2 separate regions of the Homo sapiens genome follow, and region 1 is linked to region 2. Evidence: promoter capture Hi-C in human tissues and cell types (Jung and others, 2019). All regions are on one chromosome and are shown on one strand. Each heading gives the region's core, a stretch centred on a gene start or on the middle of the fragment in contact. The rest is flanking DNA. Distances are from core to core; before and after follow the strand shown. Region 1 overlaps ERC2 (ELKS/RAB6-interacting/CAST family member 2). Region 2 holds the start of WNT5A (Wnt family member 5A).

Region 1 (5,993 bases), core at 2,482-4,981, 150 kb before region 2:
ACAGTCAACTCTGTACAAGTTAGGGCAGATCAAGCTGTCTGTGGGGTTTCTCTTTCCAGGGCTGTGCATAAGGTAGGATCGTTAGAAAGGTGTGGCAGAGAAGGCAATAATATATGTCAAGAACAGGCAAAAACTTGGGCAGAATCAGGCTACAAGGCCATTCTTGGAATGTGAGCCTTGTAGAAAAACCTGGAATCTCATTCCTTGACAAAGACAGATGGACCAAGAATGGGCTATCAAGGAAGCAGGAAGTCCAAGTTAGTTACCAAAGAGGATGACAGAAAATCAAGGCAAGGGTGTGGCTGCACTAACACAGCCACAGACTTCTCTGCGGGGGAGGTGAAGTGCAGCCACAGGACGTGTGAATTGTGGCATCTTTCAATATCATGCAGAGCAAGCTTCCCCAGGCAGCGCTCGTTAAGCTGCTCCCTCCGACATTGACATAGCTTTCCCTGGGGCTCCTGCCCTGTGTGGATCTGCCTCCTTCTTATTAGAGGCAACGGTGAGACTTTGAGTGTCGCACCACCTCTTCTCCCTCAGCCTTGGTCCAAGTGTGAAAACATCTGCTTCCTGCCCTTGATAAACTCATCGGCAACACAGGGGTTTAAGTTAATTTTATTAGAAATGAAAATTAAACATGTGTGCATGCACATGTGCGTGTGCCCACACGCACACATACCCCACAAAAACCAAAGTATCACACATTCAGGCAAGTAGATTGAATTAGGTTTGGTTGGGTTAAAAGCAAGAGACAGGTTTTCTAAATATAAGGATCGAAATCAGCCAAGGTATTTACACAGGAAATCTTTCCTGACTGACGTAGATTTAAGCAACAGAGCTTTCAGGCCAAGCTAGGATGTTAGATCTCCCCCAGTTATTCACTTGTTTGTTCATTGATTCAACAACTATTTCTGTGTCTATTTTGTGCCAGACAGTGTGTCCCAGACTCTTCTTCCTCTTTGTCTCCAGCCTATACTTTCTCTCCCTCCTGTAGGCTCCCCAGGCTTCTCTGTGGCTCATGTCCTGGTCCCCAGTCTCCTGATTGTGAATACATTGTCTTCGCTGGCCTCAGATATTCCTCCCCTGCAGTTCAGCACCTGGATTTCCAAGACGCATCACCACACCCTTGAGATAGTTCTCTCTCTGTCCATTTGGGGTTGGGACATGCTAGCACTACTTTCCCTGTGGATGAAGGTAGTGCTCTTCTCCTACCTGGTCTCCCTAGAAGTGGTGACACATTTTCATACTGTCTGAGTATCAGATTCTGGACACAGCCAAAGTCCTCTTTGACCCAGCCTACACACTTCTTTCAACTCTTTGTTTGAGAACTTCCTCCACCTCTATGCACATATGCAGAGTTAGATAGCTCACCGACCCTGAATCCAATGAGCAATTTGCCTGGTTTTGAAGCCATTTCTATAGGGTGTTCTCAACGCTCAGGTATTGTCAAGGGAGATGTCATAGGTAGTGCTTTTACCAGGTACCATTCATCTTATTGTCTTTGAAACCAAACCCTGTGCTGTCCACCATCTCCACTAAGATAAGATGGAGGTCATTCTGTGAAGGTTGTAGCTGTACCAATAATACTATTCTAATGTAGTTTGGTGAGTAGAAATAAAGAACAATGCGTAAAGTTTTCCTGATTTCCTTTTAGTTTTTAGAACAAAGTGGTAGTGATTAGCCAGCCCTATCCACCCTTAAGGAAGTCAATTTAAAACCTGGTAACCAGCCAACAACATAAAAGTATTTGAATGCTGTGTATTTATTAATTAATGTATTTACTTGGGGGATGGGCAAGGACTCTGGTTCCTGTTCTTATGGTGCCCTTTAGCAGAAAGACTACAGACTCTAACGTGACTCTTTGGGGAATCTCTCTGAAGTAGTAAGTCATTCATGGCCAACATTTTAATTGAAGGTAATAATAATTCCAATAATATTATTAAGAACCACCATTAGCTCAGGAAGGACTAAATTCACTGACGTAATGCCAAAGCTATGCACAACGATGACTGCTTTGCCGAGCCCCTCGGGGAATAACTTTCATAATCCATTGAAAAGTTATGAGCTCCTTGTGCTTGCACCAAGAAAGAACTCGACATTAACCATTTGAGAAGCCATGTAAAAATGGAGAAAAAGCTACTTGTGCTTTTAACAGCTTAATTAATGGCTGCAAATGGGGTTAATTCTCACAAAAACCCCATGGAGGAGGTTGGGATGTGTGTTGACAATGGAAAATTATCCTGATTTTATAGGTGAGGGCAGTTTCCAGACACTAGGAATGAACATGGTCAGGGGGAAAGAGAAAAGATGACTTTTTGTTGTGGGAGGAATGGGGCCCTGGGCCAGCGGGCTCACTGTCTGGTTTGGGACAAGGGAAATCATTGTGTGGGGAGAAATGAATGGAGTAAGAGGAATCTGGCTTAAGAGCCTAACAGAATTGGGTTCAATTATTGCTTTTGCCATTTGTTAGCTTTCTGACCTTGGGCTAAAAGTGTTAACCTTTCAGATCCTTAGTTTTATCATCAATAAAATGGGAAAAATAACAGTAGCTAACTTGAGTCAGAGGGGTCAGTGAGAAAATGCATGTCAAATTCTTAGCCCATGTAGATAGCTACTACTATCTAGTATTCACATTATTTTTCTTTATTAACAAATTCTACAAATATGTAATAAACACCTACAGTGTGCCAGTGACGATGCTCGATAGAGAGAGCAGGTTCTTTTGACTTGATTGTCTAGTAGGGAGTTAACAAAAAAAACTAAACATATCAATAAGTAAAATGCTTGCAAATTGTACTGCATTTGAAAGCTGGCTCCAGTGAGTACTCAATGCATTCAAGCTGCCATTTGCACCCAGGGGCAGAGACTTGGATTTTAGAGTTTGCAGTAACTTGGGTTTTAGAGTTGAGGAGACCCCGGTCAGCCCAGCCTGGATGCCAGTCTCTGCTCCCAGTCTGTGCCTTCACACAAGCCCCTCATGCCTTCTGAACTCCACTTCTCCCTCTGCACATGGGCCTGGTCCCTGGCAGTGCTTGGAACCTGATGAGTCCTCAGCAGGTAGAGATGCTACCTAAGCGCACTCCCACCCATCCTTTGAGCAGCTCTGGTTCATGCCTTTCCATATTCCACAGTGTGTTTCTGTACTCTCCAGGTGAAAGGGAGAATGAGAAGGAATTACATTTCTATTTTTCTGCCTAGACATAGATGAGAAAGTTTCTATCCCCAACTCTGAGGATTTGGACAAAGGAGTGCTATCATTGGTTTGAGAAAGAAAAGAAGGGGAGCATTCCAGGAGGACCTTTGTCCTGTCAGGGCCTCAGCCACAGGCCTGATCCCAGGAGGAACTGGGTGCAACAGGCTGTTATACTGGATGGGCCAGTCCCCAGGAGAGGGACAGGAAGACAGGAGTGAACGGGCACACCTGTGAGACCACAACAGGTCCTGGCAATGGTCGGGAAGTGTGTGACAGGGCACAGTGAATGATTGGAGAGAAGCTAGGAGGGACTGACTTCTCATGGCCTCCTAGCTTCCCTTGGAGTGATTTGGTCTAACACTAGGCTTATAAGTCATGACTGAGCACTTATTTTGCAAATCAGGTCTGGTTTGTCATTAGCAAGGTAGGCCTTTAGAACAGAGGTCTGCAAACCGTAGGGCTGCGGGCCAGATTCAGTGCCCTGCCTGTTTTTGTAAATAAAGTTTTGTTGGAGCACAGCCACACCTCTTCGTTTATTTTCTGTGGCTGGTTTCATGTCACAACACAGGTAAATAGTTGCGACAGAAACCATATTGCCTGCAAAGCTTAAGATATTTACTTGCTGGCTCCTTACAGGAAAAGTTTGCTGACCCCTGATTTAGTGTATTATAGTTTGGGTAGGAAGAGATTCAGTCATCGATGCACTCATTTGTTCATTGAACACATGTAATTATTGATCATCTAAGGTGCTCTATGCACTGTGCCAAGCCCACAAAGTGTCCCAGGTGCTGTGCTCAATCTTATAACAGCTGTGTGAGGCGATGATGTTATTACCCCATTTTGCAGGTGGGGAAATGGAGGCTGAGGGAACGTGAATGATTTCCCCAAGGTTACAACAGCAAGGAGCAGAACAAGGACTGGAACCAGGCTTGTTAGTCTCCAGACTCTGCACTGTCAGCCTTACTCTTTGACAGTGTGTTCCATGTTTGTCCTTATTCTGCCCTGTGAATATGGATTACTGTGAGAAAGGAAGAAAGATTAAAATGTTGAAAATACATTTTTATAAATCTCTGATGGAGGCTGGGTGCAGTGGCTCATGCCTGTAATCCCAGCACTTTGGGAGGCCGAGGTGGGCGGATCACCTGAGGTCAGGAGTTCAAGACCAGCCTTGCCAGTATGGTGAAACCCCGCCTCTACTAAAGATATAAAAATTAGCCGGGCATGGTGGCACAGTCCTGTAATCCCAGCTACTTGGGAGGCTGAGGCAGGAGAATAGCTTGAACCCAGAGGCGGAGGTTGCAGTGAGCCGATCACACCACTGTACTCCAGCCTAGGAGACAGAGAGACTCCATCTCAAAAAATAAAACAAAATAAAATAAAATAAAATAAAATAAAAATAAAAATTAAAAAATCTCTGATGGGAACGATTGCTATTTAAAGTGATGGATGAGTGAAGTTGCCACTTATTTGGGAGAGCCTCTGCTGGGTTGAGATGATTCTTCATTATGCGTGTTTCTAAACTTGAACTCTAGTTGCTTTAAATGATATCAGAAAATCATCTGAGGCTGGGCGCAGTGGCTCACACCTGTAATCCCAGCACTTTGGGAGGCCAAGACAGATGGATCACTTGAGGCCAAGAGTTCAAGACCAGCTTGGCCAACATGATAAAACCCCGTCTCTATTACAAATGCAAAAATTAGCCAGGAGTGGTGGCGGACGTCTATAGTCCCAGCTACTTGGGAGGCTGAGGTACAAGAATTGCTTGAACCTAGGAGGCAGAGGTTGCAGTGAGCTGAGATCGAGCCACTGCACTCCAGCCTGGGTGACAGAGCGAGACAAAGAGACAAAAAAAAAAGAAAGAAAAAAAATCATCTGAAAATGTTTTCCCTCATAATGATATGATTTCACCACTAATGTTTATAAACATTAAAATGACAGGAAGCATTTCCTGTTCCAACCTGACAGAGATCTTGGAGGATTTGTCTAAATATTCGCATACCTTTAAAATAATCAGCAGATGACTGTCTGGATAAGAGGTCAAAAAAAGGATTTGTAGAAAAAAGAAATAATAGGCCGGGCACGGTGGCTCACGCCTGTAATCCCAGCACTTTGGTAGGCTGAGGCAGGCAGGCAGATCACGAGGTCACGAGATCAAGACCATCCTGGCCAACAAGGTGAAACCCCGTCTCTACTAAAAATAAAAAATTAGCTGGGTGTGGTGGCATGCACCTGTAGTCCCAGCTACTCAAGAGGCTGAGGCAGGATAATTGCTTGAACCCAGTAGGCGGAGGTTGCAGTAAGCCGAGATCGTGCCACCATACTCCAGCCTGGCTAGAGAGTGAGACTCGTCAAAAAAAAAAAAGAAATAATAAAGTGAGACAGGTTTTCCCTTTGAGAACTCTGAAGTGCTATGGGAAAGGGAAGAGTTGCCCTCCTGCTTTAACAGGTTAAAAATGAACCACTATTAGTGAGCAAAAGTGAGATTGCGTTATCCTTTTAATGCTCATTCTAGACACAGCTTTTGCCAGCATCTCCATGTGATAAATGCAAACCAGAGTTTCTAATTGGAAATAGGAGAAGACCATCTTAGCCGAATGGACCACACTTCCTTCTAATGACTATGAAGATGGTTTAATCTTACAGTCTAAGTAGAGGTTCTACTGACAGGTTCTCGTATGAACTGATTAGGCTTCCCCCGTAGACATTTTTATCAGACTGATTCATTCCTCTGGAAGAATGCTGGCTTTTACGTTTTTTTAGAAGAGATTCTAAATGGCTTGTCAAGATTACATCTTTCATG
Region 2 (5,880 bases), core at 2,056-4,555:
CATTCTCAGTACTGCCCTGATTTTCAAGCTCATCTCATTTCATTCTCAATGCATTTCTGCAAGGTAGATCATGAAATTTCTGCTTGCTGCTGTTGTTGCTGTTGTTGTGTGTAAGAGGGTTCTGAAGTGCTGGCTGAGAGGCTAGACAAGGTGTGACAGCTGGAAAGTGGCAGGGCAGGGACTGGAACTCCAGATTCCACAGCTGGCACTCTTAACCACTAACCAACACCGACTTCCACTAGAGGAAAGACTGCAGAACAGGAAATAGCACTGTTTGGGCTGTGTCTATACAAGCAAAGGCAATTGGAGAGAAGCAGGTGATTATCCAGATAACTCAGAAAATAGCCATTAAAAAATAAAGGTTTGTGGTTGGGTAGCCAGTATTTCTAGACTGGCTGTATGTGTGGAGGAAATGCCCAGGTTAACGGCCCTTTTCTTCATAGAATAGGATCCTCTACACGAACTGCCTTGGACTCTGGGACACTGGGATGCTAGTTTCTCCATTCTTCGGGAGCGCCCTTTGGCAGCCCCTTTCATAGTCAGCTCATATCCTGCCACTTCTTGGAGCTGCTGCACGTAAGGTGGGTCCCGGAGATCCCTGCCCGCGGGGCGGGGCTGGAGTGTCTGCCTAGGAGGCACATGCTCTCCCGCAGCCAGGGAATCTCAGTCTGCGGCCACTGGGCAGAACGGCAAGGGAGAGGGGGAAGGGCGGAGGGACGCAGCCTGGGGGCGATTTGCCGGGCGGAGACGCTCTTTTTCAGACACCCTCCTCAGGTGGGCAGATCTCAGGTTAGATTCGAAGACTGTAAAATGCCCACAGGTCGGGAAGTGGTCAAGGTTTACAGAGGAGAAGGTTAGAGGAATGGAGACTCAGGAGGTAAAGGGGAGATGTCCCAAGGGGAGCTTTGAGAACCTTGGATTCCCTCTCCTTAAGGCCGCACACGCCCTGGGGGAAAGAAAGCAAGTTGGTGGGAGGCGGGAGGTGCTAAGCAGGAGCATCTGTCTCTGGCACTTGGTGGGAAGTTCACACTGCCATCTTTGCGCGCCAGGAAGGAGGCCAGGGCTGGGGAAGGGTCCAGTCGGCTAGGAAAATTAAGGAATGGGAAGGGGCTGTGGAGGGTGGAACGGCATCGCTGGAGCCTGGGCCTGCGCCCTCTGGGGTGTGGGGGTGGAGGTGGGGGAGGACTGGAGGAACAAAACAAAACAGCCACCACACCAAAACACCTAGGCCACGGATTTTTCGCCTTAAGGTCAAGTGCATGCCAATGGACGGAGAAAATTGAATAGTGTGTGTGTGTGTGTGTGTGTGTGTGTGTGCGCGCGTGTGTGTGTCTTCACCTTTGACAGCTGGAGAATGCAGACGGCGGAAAATAACTATTACGCTCCAGTGTGAGGCACTGTTTGTGGGGTGGGGCCCTCGGCGTGCTGGAGGTAGCGGACACAAATCCACCAACCCTGCCCCTCCGGAGTCCCCAAAACCACGGGCATCTGGAAGCGTCTAGAAATTCCGGTGCCCGGAACCCGGTTTTGCCAAACTTCGCAATCTCCTCACCTGAGGGCACCCGCCAAGATCTCCGTGGCAGGACCACGCATCGCGCCTCATGCTCTGGGCCGGAGCCAGATGAGCAATCATGCATCCCACTACCCAAGTCCCTACTACTCTGGGGACTTTGCAGGAGGTGAGCGCCTAACCCTATCCATCAGCCCCAGTGCTTAAGTATCCTCCCCCAGAGGTAAGAATGAGGAGGTCCCCCATGAGGTTCCATGTCAAGGCAGCAGTCTCCGTGGAGCCCCAGTGGGAGCGGTCTGGGATACGCGGGCGAGCCAAGGGGTCCAGGCGGGGAAGTTGGGGTTCAGCCTCCCGCCGGTCGGTGGCTCTGGAAGGAGCGCAGACAACCAGGCGGCAGGCAGGCAGCGGCTGCGGAGTGGACCTCTCTCTTTCAGCAGATGCCGCGGGGGATGGGGAACTTAGAGAAGGGGAGACAAGGAGAGTGTACCCCGCCTCCCGGCACCCCAGCCCGTAGTACGGCTTTAAAATCCTGCAGAGTTTGTCATAGGCCGGCCTCACCACGCATGCGCATAGCAAAGTTGAGTTTTTTCTTTCTTCCCCCCCCTTCCCTCTCTCTTTCCAGCCGCCCCTAGTTCTGAAACTTTAAAGAACTTTTTTCTTTCTTTCTTTCTTTCTTTTTTTTTTTTTCTTCCTTCTGAGAACACCAGGGGAAAGAGGAGTCTGGAGAGAGGGAGGGAGAGAGTAAGGCAGTTGGCCAGAAGGGCTGGGGGGTGGGAGGGGGGGACGCGTCCCCGCGGTCGGTCAGTCTGTTTGCGGGGCACAGGATCGCGTGGAAATCTGCTGCGAGCTCCACGGAGCCGCCTCCGCCGCCCAGAGCCGGGGTCCGTGCGGCAGCTGCCCAGCGAGCCCTTCCGCCGCCGCCGTTGTGCCCGGGACCGCCCGCCTCCCGCCGGCCCGCTCTCCCGCCCCTCGGACCCGGGCGCCAAACGAGGAGGTGGGCAGCTTCGCCGGCCATGGACCGCCGGAGCTGAGTCGCCGCCGCGGAGCTCCGAGCTCTCGCCCTTCCCCAGCCTCGCGCCCGCGGTGCACTCGCTGCTCTTCGCCCTTCGCCCTGGAAAAACGGGGAAAAGAGAGATCAACCCGAAGAGAGAAAGAACGGGATACGTGGTGGGGGGGGGGAGCCCGCGTCTCCCCTGGGTTAGTCGCACCCCTCCAGCTCACCGCACAGCAATAAGTTCCGGGGCGACTTTCACCTATTTTGCTCCCCGTTTTTGCCGAACCCTAAAATGAAAGGACACAATTTGGGGCTGACTCTTGCAGCTCAGATGGCGACTTGTGCGTTTTCAGCGGCATCTCCCGGAGAAAAAGCCATGCGCGCCTGATTGTTCTGTGGCCCCAAAGCTGCAGCGGGGGTGTGTGTGTTGGGGTGTGTGTCTGTGTGTGTACAGAGACGTCCACACTAACTCGCGGCTGCAGGATCAGCGTCTGGAAGCAGACGTTTCGGCTACAGACCCAGAGAGGAGGAGCTGGAGATCAGGAGGCGTGAGCCGCCAAGAGTTTGCAGAATCTGTGGTGTGAATGAACTGGGGGCACCTGGGCGCACAGATCGCCCCCCTTCCCCCGCCCCGGGCCACAGTTGAGTAGTGGTACATTTTTTTCACCCTCTTGTGAAGAATTTCTTTTTATTATTATTTGTCGTAAGGTCTTTTGCACAATCACGCCCACATTTGGGGTTGGAAAGCCCTAATTACCGCCGTCGCTGATGGACGTTGGAAACGGAGCGCCTCTCCGTGGAACAGTTGCCTGCGCGCCCTCGCCGGACCGGCGGCTCCCTAGTTGCGCCCCGACCAGGCCCTGCCCTTGCTGCCGGCTCGCGCGCGTCCGCGCCCCCTCCATTCCTGGGCGCATCCCAGCTCTGCCCCAACTCGGGAGTCCAGGCCCGGGCGCCAGTGCCCGCTTCAGCTCCGGTTCACTGCGCCCGCCGGACGCGCGCCGGAGGACTCCGCAGCCCTGCTCCTGACCGTCCCCCCAGGCTTAACCCGGTCGCTCCGCTCGGATTCCTCGGCTGCGCTCGCTCGGGTGGCGACTTCCTCCCCGCGCCCCCTCCCCCTCGCCATGAAGGTAGGTGTTCAGTGCGCTGCCACTTTTTTTCTTTACTTCCCCCCACCCCCTGTTGGAAGTTAACTGAGTTCCCTTCGCCTCTTCCTATCCCTCCATTTCCCCAACCGCCTGAAGAAGCTGGAACTCCAGCGTCGCTGGCAGGAACCCCTACCCCTTCGCCCTCCACGCCGGGCGCACTGCCTCAGTGTCCCAGGAGATCACTTCTGGTCGCACCACCCGTTCTGCAAACAATTTTGATTTTTGAGAAAAAGTGGGGAAGAGCGATAGTAGACAAACTGAGTGCGGTTCACTGACGACTTTCCTTTTGCTCTGAGAACATCGAGTGTAATTTACTATGTATATTTCAGTAACAGGATAATGATTCAATTCAACAAATATTTACCAAGCGCCCACTGCGCGGGCACCGGGACGGTGTGTGGCCGGGGCTCGGGATGGGGAAAGGGACTCCTTGGTTGAGAGAACCCGCAGAGGAACTAGGGGCCAACTACTCCAGAGCGGCGTACACCTTCCCCGACACCCCCCCGCACCGACGGAGGCCAGATTGTAGGCTTGCCTTGGCCGAGTAACTCGAGCGCTTCAGGCCCCTTTGCCTTTAAGAGTGCCTGGCGGGGGGCCAGCGCGCACCCCGGCGCGGGGAGCGGGGTCGCGTTATTAGCATTATTAGCCGCCACTGGGTGAGCTCAGGCACTTTGCAGCAGTGGTGGGGGCGGGGAGTTGTGGTGGTAGTGGCTGTAATCCCGTACTCCGGGACAGCGCTCCCCGGCCCCCTGAGCGGAGTCCGCCTTGTCCTTTAGAAAACACTTGGGCCTCCGCTTTGGGAGAGCAGGCGGGGGCCAGTTTGCGAACTCTTGTTTGTTTTAATTGTCAGTTGTATGTTAAAGCCGAATCACACACTCCGAGGGTCACTGAGAGTTCACTTTTACGAAAAGTTAACGTTTCTTCCTGCAACATAAGTTTTTATTTTCTAAACAATTTTTCTTATCTGTCCTCCAAGCTTCGATTCCTATTTCCATTTTTCTGGTCTTTCCCATTTTAAGTTTCTTAGAAAATAAGGTTAGAATTGAAATTAAGATGTTTCCTGGAAGCAAATAACCCCTCTTCCCCCCAAAAAGTTAAAAAAAACAACAACAAAAAACTTCAAGTCTGGAGACCCCACGGCCCTGTTTGACTTTCTAATCCCTGTCTGGTATCGAGGCCCCTTCTCCTCTCTCGCCTCTCTTTTCTCTCTTCTCTCTTTAAATGGGTAATTCGCTGTTTGGAAGTAACTTGGGCCTTGCGGTGAGGTCGCACCTCCTCAGCCCCTGCCCTCCCCCCAGCCACCTTCGCACATTCACTGCCGAACCAGCCAGATTTAGTTTCTAGACAGACTCTGCCAGGGGAGTTTCGAGGGGGCAATGCGGAGAGTGCGCAGCGAACCGCGGGCCGACAAATGTGTGTGTGTCCGAGTGTGTGGATCCTTGGCTGCGTGTGTGTGCGTGTGTGTTTGTGTGTGTAGGGGAGTTGTTCTCGGGTCCAGGACGTAGTAGCCTTCGTCTCCTCCACCCCCCGACCCTCTCAACGGAAGACCCTCCCCAGGAGGCCCGGCCCAAGAGTCCCCTGTCTTCTCCTCCCCTCCCCCGTGCGCTCCGGTGCTCAAGGGGTTAGCACTATGCGCGCAGAACTCGGAGCCATCCCCGCGGCCTTTTCTTCCCCGCGGTGCGGTGCCGGCTGCCCCCTGTTGGCCGCCTTGAGGTAGGACTCCTGCGAGCCTCGGTTCCTTGGGGCGGGCGGGCGGGCAGCTGCTCCCCTCTCCCTCCCACCCCTGCTCCCTTCATCCCTCCCGACCACCAGACCCCACTCTCCCAGCAGGGGCCCTCGGAGGCCCCCAGAGGACCAGTTTCGCTGCGCCGCCGGCCGCTGCAATACGGAAGGGGCCACGGGTCCAGCCCAGCAAATGGGACTCGGCCAGCTGGACACAGGGTTGGTACCTCTTCTTCTGGGCTTGGGAAGGAGAGTGTCGCCCTAGGAGGCCTCGGGTCTGGCCTCAGCTGCCTCCCAACTCTCTATGATCGAGAACAAGTGTTGCTTTCCCGCTTTTCGCCTCACTTTAATCGTCTATTAAAAAGTGGGAGAGAAACTACCTTTAAAGAGTGGGGGTTGGACTATCATTTCATTTTCTTCCTCTGTCCAAGGACTCTGCTCCACCTCTGGACAAAGTTGATCCTCTGCCGAGAGGGCTAGACATCCTATGTGAGAAGGTGTGAGTGGTG

The links. The method cuts DNA at HindIII sites, captures the fragments that hold promoters and counts their contacts. A contact is called where the count stands out against the background at its distance.
Region 1: a contact is called between a fragment that was not itself captured here and the fragment with the promoter of WNT5A in region 2, in 1 of the 25 tissues and cell types used here (IMR-90 fibroblasts).

What each region holds. Positions count from the first base shown.
Region 1 is chr3:55,634,454-55,640,446 of GRCh38, reverse strand. All of the region lies in intron 17 of ERC2 (ELKS/RAB6-interacting/CAST family member 2), which reads left to right. Among named protein-coding and RNA genes, the nearest start is that of ERC2-IT1, 22 kb to the left of the region's middle. The HindIII fragment of the contact is 3,265 bases long and covers 2,099-5,363 here.
Region 2 is chr3:55,484,731-55,490,610 of GRCh38, reverse strand. WNT5A (Wnt family member 5A) reads left to right here and starts at 3,305. Exons shown (of 5, transcript NM_003392.7): 1 at 3,305-3,631. The coding sequence starts at 3,626. WNT5A-AS1 (WNT5A antisense RNA 1) reads right to left here and starts at 2,993. Exons shown (of 2, transcript NR_046656.1): 1 at 2,732-2,993; 2 at 2,303-2,621. RefSeq lists enhancers at 1-96, 659-1,170, 1,171-1,681. The HindIII fragment of the contact is 9,126 bases long and covers 1-5,880 here.